Linked DNA regions of Homo sapiens: region 2 is linked to region 1. The links are contacts of gene promoters, found by promoter capture Hi-C in human tissues and cell types (Jung and others, 2019). All regions are on one chromosome and are shown on one strand. Each heading gives the region's core, a stretch centred on a gene start or on the middle of the fragment in contact. The rest is flanking DNA. Distances are from core to core; before and after follow the strand shown.

What was found. The method cuts DNA at HindIII sites, captures the fragments that hold promoters and counts their contacts. A contact is called where the count stands out against the background at its distance.
Region 2: a contact is called between a fragment that was not itself captured here and the fragment with the promoter of POLL in region 1, in 1 of the 25 tissues and cell types used here (lymphoblastoid cells).

Annotation. Positions count from the first base shown.
Region 1 is chr10:101,585,002-101,591,310 of GRCh38, forward strand. It overlaps POLL (DNA polymerase lambda), which reads right to left and starts at 3,256. Exons shown (of 9, transcript NM_001174084.2): 1 at 2,821-3,256; 2 at 2,245-2,405; 3 at 861-1,155; 4 at 315-477. The coding sequence starts at 2,359. It overlaps DPCD (deleted in primary ciliary dyskinesia homolog (mouse)), which reads left to right and starts at 3,320. Exons shown (of 6, transcript NM_015448.3): 1 at 3,320-3,399. The coding sequence starts at 3,336. RefSeq lists enhancers at 2,896-3,175, 3,276-3,605. The HindIII fragment of the contact is 10,926 bases long and covers 458-6,309 here.
Region 2 is chr10:101,099,740-101,106,048 of GRCh38, forward strand. The region is part of intron 2 of TLX1NB (TLX1 neighbor); the gene reads right to left. Among named protein-coding and RNA genes, the nearest start is that of TLX1NB, 28 kb to the right of the region's middle. The HindIII fragment of the contact is 7,471 bases long and covers 1-6,309 here.

The sequences.
Region 1 (6,309 bases), core at 2,006-4,505:
TGCGGGGGGAGGGTCTTCTAGTCAGACCTAAGAATGAGGCGGGGCCTTCTGCATCAGACTTGGATCTCCTTGGGTGTGAGGCCACGTTCCCTTTGGCTCCACGCAGTGCCTAGCCCTAGGATCCCCAGTGGTATGTGTTAGATATGGCCTAGATAAATGCAGCAGTGATGAGTGTTGGGAAGAGCTAAATGGCTTCACAATAGAGCCCTCCTCTCTCAGGGGCCTGGGACTTTCTGAACAGCCACCAGGCCCACCCCATTTCTGTGATCTGCTTCCTAGGGGAAGGGAGTTCTGAGGGATGGGAGGCTCCTGACCTGGGCTTGGGTGTTTGGTGCCTCTTTTGCCTTTTGGGGAGGAGACACAGGCCTGGTGGGAGGAGGAGGAGGAGAAAGGGCTGTCTGAAGCAGGGCCTCATGGGTGCCAGGAGGAATAGAAGCATCCTGCTCTGCCTTGCTGGGCTGTGGATGGTCCAAGTACCTGTGGGGATGGTGATGGGAGGTTAAGACACCAAAGGTCTCACCCTGTATCTGTCCCCAGTCCTTCTGTACTCTGAAATACTTGGTTTCCCAGTGTGTCCAATTAAGAAAACGAGTTTTTTGAGGTTTTTGGAGTTTCTCTTGAGACAGGGTCTTGCTCTGTCACCCAGGCTGGAGTACAGTGGTACGATCAAGGCTCACTGCAGCCTTAACCTCCCTGGCTCAATCAATCCTCCCACCTAAACCTCTTATAGCTGGGACTACAGGCACACCCCACCATGCCTGGCTAATTTTTTAATTAATGATAGTTATTTTTAATAATTCAAGAAAAGAGCTCAAGATGCTACTAGAAAACATTTGAAAAAAAGACTGGGATCAGCCCACCTACTGGGGATGAAGATGCTGAATCCAGCTACATCCACCAGCCTCCTCTCCTGAAGGCACAAGCTCAGCCAGGCTGACTTCACCAGCTGAGCACCCGGGGGCAGCTGGGGTAGTCTGAGAAGGCGGAGGGCTCGCTCATAGTCCATGCCTTCATCCACCACAATGTGAGTGACACCTGGGCCCTGGGCAGGGCATAGCTGGCCGCCATGCTGAACAATCTGCTTCTCAAAGAGTTCTGCCCGGGCTCGTCCAATGCCAGTGCGCACAACATGGGCCCGAAGGGAGCTCAGCCACTCTGTGGAAGGAACATCCAGATGACTACTGTTGTAACTTTTTAATTTTTATCTGCCACCCCCTGGCCACGACATAACTTCTAACATGATCTGAATGACGTGTTCACAGTCCCCTACCCTGAAAATAAGCATTTCCCTTCCATCCAGACAGCTTTCCTTCTACATATAGCAAATTTTCTCACAGGCCAGCACTTGAATGTAAGGGACAAGGATTTTCATACGTCCTGTTCCTTGGTGCAATCTAGAAGTGTCTGGCACATTGTAAGTAACCTGTAAATATTTGTTTAATGAATGCCTCCTCCCTTCTTACTTTGTTTTTTGTTTGTTTGTTTTGTTTTCTTTTGTTTTGTTTTTGTTTGGAGACAGTCTCACTCTGTCGCCCAGGCTGGAGTACAGTGGCATCGTCTTGGCTCACTGCAACCTCCATCTCCCGAGTTCAAGCGATTCTCATGCCTCAGCCTCCCGAGTAGCTGGGATTACCGGCGTGTGCCACCATGCCTGGCTAATTTTTTGTATTTTTAGTAGAGACAGGGTTTCGCCATGTTGCCCAAGCTGGTCTCGAACTCCTGAGCACAGGTGATCTGCCTGCCTCGGCCTCCCAAAGTGCTGAGATTACAGGCAAGAGCCACCGCGCCCAGCCTCTCTCCATACTTTGAATCCTTTATCATTTATTCTTTCAACAAAGCGCGTTTCTTGCCCTTACAGTCTGACAGACCCGACAACCCTGCCTCCAAAGCCTCTGCCATTTATTTGCCAATTTGGCTGCAAAACAACTAACAACAAGCCTGGGTAATGGAGGGGGGTTTCTGTCCCAGTCCTCAGGGCAAAAATTATACTGGTCATTCCCTGAGGGCCCAGGGAGTCTTTTCTGATGGATAGAGGTCTTCGGGTAGAAAAGAAGGTAACACAGCAAATAGCCTGTCCAAGACCCAGGACCAAGCTTAGCACAAGGTAGATACAAACAGACCTGCAGGCCCTGGACAGGCAGAGTCAGCTCCAATATCTGATTCTGGACATAAACAACGTAGGGCTGAAGCACATGAAGGCTGTGGGTTCAAGCACACGAGGGTTCTGAGACTGGGTCAGCTCACCTTCTGCTTCTTCTCCCTCTTCCCTCCTAGGAATCTTTGCAAGTACTTTTGATGATGCATCAGCATGAATTTTCTGCCGCTTGGGAAATGCCTTCAAGATACCCCTGGGATCCATTGAAGTATGGCTGGATCCCGGCCTATTGGAGCGTTGGTCAGGGCTGCTGCACGTGGAAATCCAGAATTGAGGCCCTCCAACCCCTTTGCCTATGGAGGTAGGGTCTTTCCTGACCAGGCTTTGGGGGTAGCAGCCCAGTTTGGGGAAGCGGGTCGGGGGAGGGGGTCTCTTCAAACCCGGTTAAACTTCAGTGGTTTAGCCTAGCTTCACACTCCCCAGCCTTTCGAAGTTGGAGTATTACGGGAAATGAGGGGAAGGCTGGTGCCATCGGGGGTACTTTTGAGGAGTAGGAAACGACACCATTCCTCAGAGGGGTTGCGCTAAAGATTCAGCACAGCCCTGCTGCGGCCCACTTCGAAGGGCTTTACCAAATGGGATGCTGGGCTAGGAAATGGAGCTTTAGGGGATGGAGCGGAGCCTGGGGAGGACCTGCACATAAACCCCACATACTATTTCTCTACCTCCAACACAGACTCGCAGAGGAAGGAGGAGGACTTTCGGGGGTGAGTGGGAACGCCCTGCACCTGTCCTGGTCTCAGCCTCTCGACATGGGGGTGCTCAGCGCCGCAGCTGCGGGGAGATGGGGCACGGCCGCAGCAGGTGTGGGGAGCCCTCCGGGAATGGAGGAGTCTCGCAGCTGCGGGTGAAGTCCCGGGCAGGTGCGGTGTACTCGCCGTGTACGCAGCTGGCGCAGGCCAGGGAATCCCAGCTCGGGGCTAGAAGAAAGCTGGAGTGCCCGACCCCGGCCCCAAGAGTCTCTCCAACCCCCAGAGTCGGTCCCCGGGTGGGGTCGACTACTGGCCAAGCTAGTCACCCGGGGGTGGGCAGGAATAGACCACTTACCAGCAGAGCCAATGAGAGCGGACGAAGGGGGGAAGGAGGGCAAATGGCCAGAATAGCTTCCGAGTCAGCCGGAAGTGACCCTCTGGAACGGTTGCCATGGCAGCGGCTGGGCGTGCTGCTTAGCAGGGGAAAGATGGCGGTGACGGGCTGGTTGGAGAGTCTGCGGACAGCCCAGAAGACTGCGCTGCTGCAGGACGGTAACTCGAGGGTCCCCACGGGCTCCTTCGTTTTTTTCCCTCAGGGTCCGGCCCTCCGGGAAGGGCCTCAGGGCCTGGGTCGGCAGAGCTGGAAGGGTCTCGGCGGTCAGCCGGGCCAGGTCCTGCATTTGCAGATGAGGAGACTGAGGTTCACAGAGATGACATGACTGGAACACATGTCTCCGGACACCCCTTAGATTCCTCTACACCATCTCGCTCCGCTCTGATTTCTGTTGCTAATATAGTAATTTCTTTTACATTCATTATCTCATTTGCTCCTCACCACTGTCCTGAGAGGCTAATTTTCACCCCGTTTTACAGAAGAGGAAACTGAAATCCAAGAATGTTTTAGACTTTAGAGAGGAGAGAGGCCTGGGCTCTAGTTCCGACTGTGCCATTAATTCACCACGGGCGCTTCAGTCGGCTCCTTTACTTGTTTGGGCCTCACTTTCCTCATCTATAAAATGAAGTGGATGGACTACCATTGTTATCTCTGAGGTCCTTTCCAGCTGTAATATTTTTGTTAAGTGAACTTCTAAATATTTTCTGTGTCTTTAGGGGAGCTAGAGCAAGAACCAAGGGCTGTGCCTGGAAGAAGTGGGCACAGGGGCATGGATACCTAACTTTTCCCCACCCTAGGATTGGCCGATGCCGGCCCCTTTGTGCACTTGGGTCCTTTCTGGACCCACTGGGTAGCCAGGATGAATTGCGTCTGAAGTTCCTGAGGCTTTCAAGATAACAACTGGTGACTCATGTTCACAGGCAGGGGCCAATCAGGGAAGCCTGGAGTTTGTGGAAATTAAAATCATTTACTCGTTCGTGCAACATTTAGGAAGACTTTTACTATGTGCCAAGCTCTAAACTAGAACAGAAAGAAAAAGATATGTTGTCCCAGGACTCAGAGTGGTTGGGAAAAACATGTACTTAAATAATAAGAAGCGTTAAATAGAGGTTGTAGTCTTGTATAAAATGGTAGGAAAGAGTGAAGGTGTAAGTGACATCTCTTTGGAGGAAGACCCAACAGAAGTGATGATGTTTCTGGGTCCTAAAGAATTAATAAGGTCAGGCACAGTGGCTCACGCCCGTAATTCCAGCACTCTGGGAGGCCAAAGTGGGCGGATCATTTGAGCTCAGGAGTTCGAGACCAGCTTGGGCAACATGGCCAAACCTCATCTCTACAAAAAATACGGAAATTATGGCCGGATGTGGTGGTTCACGCCTGTAATCCCAGCATGTTGGGAGGCCGAGTGGGCGGATCCCTTGAGGCCAGGAGTTCGAGACCAGCCTAGCCAACATGATGAAACCACCCCATCGCTACTAAAAATACAAAAAAATTAGCCAGGTGTGGTGGTGCGCACCCGTAATTCCAGCTACTCTGGAGGCTGAGGCAGGAGAATCGCTTGAACCCGGGAGATGGAGGTTGCAGTGAACTGAGATCACACCACTGCATTCCAGCCTGGGTGACAGAGTGAGTGAGACTGTGTCTCAGACAAAAAAATAAATAAGCCGTGCATCATGGCACATGCCTGTAGTCCCAGCTACTTGTGGTGGCTGAGGCCAGAGGATCGCTTGAGCCAGCGAGGTAGACGCAGCAGTGAGCCGAGATCATGCCAGTGCACTCCAGCTTGGGCGACAGAGCGAGACCCTGTCTCAAAAAAACTGGAAAAAAAAAAAAAAAAAAGAATTAATAGGCGTTTGCTGAGTGAAGAAGAGGGGATAGCTATTCAAAGAACAACTCACATATAAGGACCCTATGTGAAGGTGTGAAGGTACGTGCCTGATTACTAGAGGAATAACAAAATGTTTAGTAATGTTAAAGCAGTCACTCAGTCAGAACAAACCACCTATAACTATGTCAGGTACTATTCTAGGTGCCAGGATGGAAGCGAGAATAAAAAGGTCCCTTTTCTCAAGGAGCAATGAGGGGAAGTTGTGGAAAATGAAGAGAGATGACAGATAAGTTGGGACATATTGTGATAGATCTCTTATGCCTTGCTAAAGATTTAGGACATTTTCTCATAGGACAGTGGTTTTTGTTTTTATTGTGGTAATAAATACATAACAGAATTTAGCATTTTAATCATTTTTAAGTGTACAGTTCTGTGGCATTAAGTACATTCACATTGTTGTGCAACTATCACCACCATCTTCAGAACTTTTTAATCTTTCTCAACGGAAATTCTTTTTTTTTTTTTTTTTTTAGAGACAGGGTCTTGCTCTGTCACCCAGGCTGTGGGGTACGATCATAGCTCACTGCAGCCTTGAACTCCTAGGCTCATGTAGTCCTCCCACCTCAGCCTCTTGAATAGCTGGGACTACAGGCATGTGCCACTACACTCAGCTCAAGTGAAATTCTGTACCCACCAAATGCCAACTCCTCATTCCCTCCTCCTCCCATCCCCTGGCAACCACCATTCTACTTTCTGTCTATGAATTTGACTGCTCTAGGAACCTCGTCTAAGTGGAATCATACAATATTTGTCTTTCTGTAACTGGTGTATTTCACTTAGTGTAACGCTTCAAGGTTCATCCATGTTGCCACAGTTGGATACTTCCAGCTGTGCCATTAATTCACCACAGGATCTCTAGTTGGCCCCTTTACTTGTTTGGATCCTTTCCAGCTGTAATATCGTTCATAAAGTAAACCTCTAAATGTTCCCTGTGTTTTTAGGGGAGATAGAGCAAGGACCAAGGGCTGTGCCTGGAAGAGGTGGGCACAGAGGTATGGATATTGTAGCATGTGTCAAAATTTTGCTCCTTTTTAAGGCTGAGTGATATCCATTGTATGTCTACACTGCATTCTGTTTATTTATTCATCTGTTGATGGACACCTGGGTTGCTTCCACCTTTTGGGTATTGTGGATAATGCTGCTCTGAACATGAGTATACAAATATCCACTTGAGTCCCTG
Region 2 (6,309 bases), core at 1,862-4,361, 490 kb before region 1:
ATTAGGGTGAGTATGGGCACATTTGTGTCTTTGTGAGTGTGCACGCTGGAGATTGGGAGTGTGCTCGTCTGTGGCTGTGTGTGGGTGTGTGCCTGTGAGGTGGGGTCCAGGCTGAGTATGAGAGTGTAAACATGTGGGTCTTTGAAATAATGAGTATGACAGAGCAGTGCACTAGTGTGACCATGTGGGGTGTGACTGCTTACAAGTGTATGATTGTGTGAGCGCACAAACACGCATGGGAAAGACAGTTGCTGTCTCTTAGAGGAAAAATCCCAGAACTCCAACGGCCAACGTCTGCTCTGCTGTTGACCAGCTCTGTGGCTTTGAGCACATGACTTCTCTGAGTCTACATGTCGCTACCTGCAAATGGGGAGGAAACTGTCTCACAGGGTAATCATGAGGACGAGGTGCAGGTGTGGGTGGAGCACTTTGTCATCTGTCAAATGTAGGTCCCTGGGAAGGTCAATAAGCAATCTCCATCCTCTGCCTCTCTCCCCCACTTGCACCCCCACAACATGCTCAGGCCCCAGCCAAGTGCCAAGCTGGGGTGGGTGGTGTCCCAGAGCTGCAGGCTACATGGCCAGAGGTCCAGGCTCAGGAGGACTGGTTAGGGATGGTGAGAGTGAGCAGGTGTGGTGCCATACCTGTCTACTCCAGCTTCACATGTTTGACCCAAGGCTGCCCTGCCCCACCGGCACCAGCCCATCAGCACTCATTATTCTCCTCTGGATCTGAGGGGATTCTCCTCTATCTCACCCCAGCCCAGCATGCTGTGGCTTCTGCTGCCTCCTCCCTCTGGGGAGGTGAAGGCCCCCCCAGTAGGAGGCTCTCACTTCAGGTTCCCCTTCTGACCTTCTGAAGGCCATTCCCCACTAAGATCCCAGGGTCTTCAGCCCTGTTTCACTTCCATTCCCAGCCTCCCCTGAGCTTCCTCAAATGATTCTGGGGCACCTAGTCCATGCACCTACATTTGGAAATCATCTACTTAGCACAGTGGTTCTCAACCGTGGCTGCACATCAGACAGGAATCACCCAGGGAAGACTTGAAAGATCCTGATGCTGAGGCTGCCCCCAGACCAGAATTTCTGGGTTGGTACTCAGGCATTATTACAGGTTTAGGCACGGAATGGTGGGTCATGCCTGTAATCCCAACACTTTGGGAGGCCAAGGCAGGAGGACTACTTGAGGCCAGGAGTTCAAGACCAGCCTGGGCAACATGGCGAGACCGCCTCTCTACCTAAAAAAGAAAAAAAGAAAAAAAGAAAAAAGAAAAAAAAATTGTTGGGCATGGTGGTGCACACCAGCAGTCCTAGCTACTTGGGAGGCTGAGGCAGGAGATTACTTGAGCCCAAGAGTTTGAGGCTACCGTTAGCTATAATCACGCCACTGCACTCCAGATAGTCTCTAAAAAAGCAAATAAAATGACAAAATAAAATAAATATAGGTTTAAAGCTCTCCCAGGTGATTCTAATGTGCAGCCAAGCTTGAGAACCACTGCTGATGTTTCCCAAGCATCCTTGCTGAGAAGAATCACTTGGGACGCTTCAAGTATTGAAGTGTATTCAGGTATTGAAATGTATTGTGTTAAATACACAGCTTCCCAGGCTCCCTCCCCTGGAAATTGTCATTGGGTGAGTCTAAGATAGGGCCCTGTAATTTGCATTTTTAATAAATACCACAGATGATTCTAATTATTAGGGAATTTTGGAGCTACTAGCCTAGAGCTGTGTTTCTCAAACTTTAATGCGCATCCAAATCACGAGGGGATCTTGTTAAAATGCAGATTCCGGTTGACTAGTTCTGGGGTGAGAGCCTGAGGAGTTATAGAAGTTCTGGCCAATCGGAGCATAAATTAAGAGATGGTGAATAATAAGACAAGACCAGAGAAGAAGGCAGGGACCTTATAAACTGTGACAAGGAGCTCAAACTTGATGCCATGGCAATGAGGAGCCACCAGAGGGTTTTAAACAGAGGGAAAGCTTGTTCAGATACATATTTTAGAAAGGTGTATTATTGTGGCCATGTGGGAGATGATGGATCATGCATCAGAGGATCAGACATCAGCCAGGAGGCTGTTGCCACATTCCAGGTGAAAGGTGGTGGCCTGGGCTAATGAGGTGGGTGCAGAGGGAGAGAAGTTAGTAGTCTTGTGGAAGACTCAGTGATCAGTTGGGTGGAGGCTGAGGGGGAAGATGAGGGAGGCTCCAGAGTAACCCCTGAGCTGGCTACTGACTTGGCAACTGGTGAAGAGGCGTGCCCATCTTGGTTGGCTCTGAAGCTTCCTTCCACATCTACTGACTCTATGGTCTGATCATTGTTTGGCTTAGCTTCTTGTGGGACCAGGGTGGGAGAGAGGCTACAGGAAGCTGCCTGAAATGCGTTATGGAACTGGTGCCTTGGAGAGCCCTTCTCCTTGACTTTGAGTGACTCTGGAGGCTCCCTGTCAGCAGTTGCCAAGGCTTAGAGGCTGCTTTGGGGATTCGGTCTTCTGCATACCTTGGCTCTCCATTTTTTTCCTCTCTGGCTCCCTTCCAGAGAAGGAAGCCCAGATGAAGAGAAATCTGCATCCAAATGGCACCCTTGCTCTTGGATCCCATCTGGTGACTCTCCTTGTGAACCCTAAGTGCCCCCTAAAGACCTCCCGCAGGCCATTTCTCCTGACATCTCTGCTTGGCACACCAGTCCCATCCTGACCTTGACCACAGACCCCTCCCCACATTGAGCTCTGTCTACCCACTCCAAGGACACTTGGCCTGTTCTCCTGTTTGGGGACCTTATTTTTCCCTTTTGTCAGCTAAATGTTGGCTCAGAATCCCCTAACCAAGTAACTGCTTTGCAGTTCCCAGGCTGCTCTGTCACATCTCTCTCTGGTATAGCTCTTTCTACGGTGCAAGTGTGCAGTAAGACTGAGATTCAAGTCACACTCACTAGGCTGGGAGGGCCATTCTGTAATCAATTGCCATCATCTTGAGCATCTGGTGAGAGCTAATAGTATGTTGGGCACCAAACTAAGGACTTTATATGTATTATCTCAGTGTATGTTCACATCTCCAAGAGATAGATTGTGCAGTGGTGCGATCTCGGCTCACCCGCAACCTCCCCCTCCCAGGCTCAAGCCATTCTCCTGCTCAGCCTCCTGAGAAGCTGGGATTACAGGCACACTCCACTACTGCCTGGCTAATTTTTGTATTTTTAATAGAGATGGGGTTTCGCTATGTTGGCCAGGATGATCTCAAACTCCTGACCTCAAATGATCTACCTGCCCCAGCCTCCCAAAGTGCTGGGATTCCAGGCGTGAGCCACTGTGACTGGCCAGGTTCTCCTATTCTTATTTTACAGATGAAGAAATAGGCAAAGATGTTAAATAACTTGCCCAAGGTCACTCAGCTAGGAATTGGGACTGGAGCCTCGTGCATCTTCACCACTGAACTGCACTGCCTGTCATAGTCCTCATCAGCAACCAAGGCTCAGTTAAGTCCTCTGCCTAGGATCAGCCTCACTGGATTTTTCCCAGAGAAAATGTCAGGCCAGGGCTAAGGCTCATACCCAGAAAGCTGAGGGAGGGAGCAGATGGTAACCCCAGGGGGATTTTGCCACAGTGGAGTTAGGGATAGGAGGTCAAAAGGACTGCAGTTGAGTCTTGCTCTGCCTCTTGTTATCTGAGTGAACGTGGCCAAGTCTGACCTCTCTGAACTTCAGTTTCCTCATCTGTGACATGGGGATGGCAGTAGAAGCTACCTCTCAGAGGTTATGAGGAACAAATGAGGAAATGTGCAAGGCAGGATTGTATCAACTGCAAAGAGCTGCCTGATGTAAGTGACTGTTAGTGCCAGCAGTCACTCAATATTTATCATGAATTACTAGGACCGAATCCAGGTGCTGTGAGTACAGCCATGAGCCCCTGGGCCTGGACTTGTCCCTAAGATGACAAATTGCAAGTCAAACAAGAATACAGTCACCTTGCCACTCTCCGCCTTCCATGGGCCTTTTGTGATCTTTCTGAAGCTATGACTTGGGCCCTGGCCATCTTTCCTTACCTGTGTAAACTGAAGGTCTTTAGCCCTCTAACAGTCTAGACAGCCCCCAATTTTAACATTCCAGGGGTGGAATGGGAGGCGGGTCCTTGTGACATTTGCTAAAGCAGAATTGCTGCCAAAAAGGGGCCTCTTTCTTCATGCAATGAATAAAAATCTTAGTGCCTCGTGTTTGTGTATGTCAAGACTCACTGCTGAAACTTTTGTTAATTCATTTATTCAAATGAACCACATTTATTTAAATTTACTTTAAATTTCAAAAGTAAACTAAAAATGCATTCTTGTTGTAAGAAATACAGATGAAATAATCCTTCCAATTCCAGAATCATCTGCAGAGGTCACTGCTGTGGTCAATTCACTGTGTATCCTTCTAGATCATTTCCTACGCATTTACCTACATGTATATATTATTCAAGGAGAAACATACGATTTTTTTGTTGGGTTTTTACCTTTGTACCTGAGTATTTTTGTTTTTCTGCAATTTGCTTTTCCAGTGAGCGGTGGCTCACGCTTGTAATCCCAGCACTTTGGGAGGCCGACGCAGGCGGATCATGGGGTCTGGAGTTTGAGACCAGCCTGGCCAACACAGTGAAACACCGTCTCTACTAAAAATACAAAAATTAGCTAGGTATGGTAGCGGGTGCCTGTAATCCTAGCTACTCGGGAGGCTGAGGCAGGAGAATCACTTGAACCTGGGAGGTGGAGGTTGCAGTGAGCTGAGATCGTGCCACTGCGCTCCAGCCTGGGTGACAGAGCTAGACTCCATCTCAAAAAAAAATGTATCTATCTATCTATATATATGGCTTGGAATGAAAATATGGCATGCACATTTTCCCATATCAGAACATGGAGGTCTACCTCATTATTTTTAATTGCTTCACCTTAAGTATTCCATAGATGGGGGTGCCACTGTTTATTCACCCATTCCCACTGGTGGACTGTTAGGTTGCTTCTGATTTTTCATTGTTGTAAATTTGCTTAGTGAACTCTCTGGTATGTGGTTCTGTGGGCAGACATGGCTATTTTGTTAGGATAATGGATATCTAGAAATAGAGTTGGTCAAATGAAGATGGGTATTGTTAATTTTAATAGAAACTGCCAAAATACCTATCAAGAAGACTGAACCAATTCAGGGCACTTCCAAGAGAGGATGAGAAGACCAACTTACGTACACACTCTCTCCCATGCTGGATACTGTCAGTACGTTGAATTTTTGCTAATCCAATGGATGAAGCTAAAACAAATCTTATGTCTATTTTAATTTGTAGTTCTCAAATTATGATTGCATTTCTCTCATGTTGAGCATATTTTCCTAAGTTCATTGGACATTGTGTTTTTATTTCTGTAAGTCACCTCTTCATATACTTTGCCCATTTTATTTTTATTTTTATCTTTGGAGACAAAGTCTCACTCTGTCATGCATGCTAGAATGCAGTGGGCGATCCGGGCTCACTGCAACCCCTGCCTCCCAAGTTCAAGAGCTTCTCCTGCCTCAGCCTCCCGAGTAGCTTGGGTTAAAGGTGCCTGCCACCACACCCAGCTAATTTTTGTATTTTTAGTAGAGACAGGGTTTCGCCATGTTGGCCAGGCTGGTCTTGAACTCCTGACTTTAGGTGATCCACCTGCCTCAGCTTCCCAAAGTGCTGGGATTTCAGGGGTGAGCCACCGTGCCCAGTTGCCTATTTTAAAAACTGGGGTTTCAAAAATATTTTTCTTATTAATGTGTTGGAAATTCTTAATTCTGGTTATTAATATGTGTTGTATTTTGGCTGAGTGCAGTGTCTCATGCTTGTAATCCTAGTACTTTGGGAGGCCGAGGAAGGAGGATTGCTTGAGGCCAGGAGTTTGAGACCAGCCTGGGCAACATGCAAGACTCCCATCTTTACACAATATAAAATAAACAATTTAGCCAAGCATGGTGGCATGTGTGCCTGTAGTCCCAGCTACTCTGGAGACTGAGGTGGGAGGATTGCTTGAGCCCAGGAGTTCGAGGCTGCAGTGAGCTATGATCTTGCCACTGCCCTCCAGCCTGGGTGACAGACCAAACACACACACACACAATTTTATTTTAATTTAATTTCTTTTTCTTTAGAGATGGTGTCTCCTCCTCTTGCCCATGCTGGAGTACAGTGGCATCATCAGGGTTCACTGCAGCCTTGACCTCCTGGGCTAAAGCAATCCTCCCATGTCACCCTTCAAGTAGCGGGGACTACAGTCACGCTGGGCATCTTTCCAGTACACCCTGTGTCATCATATAAATGATCCGTTTCCTTAG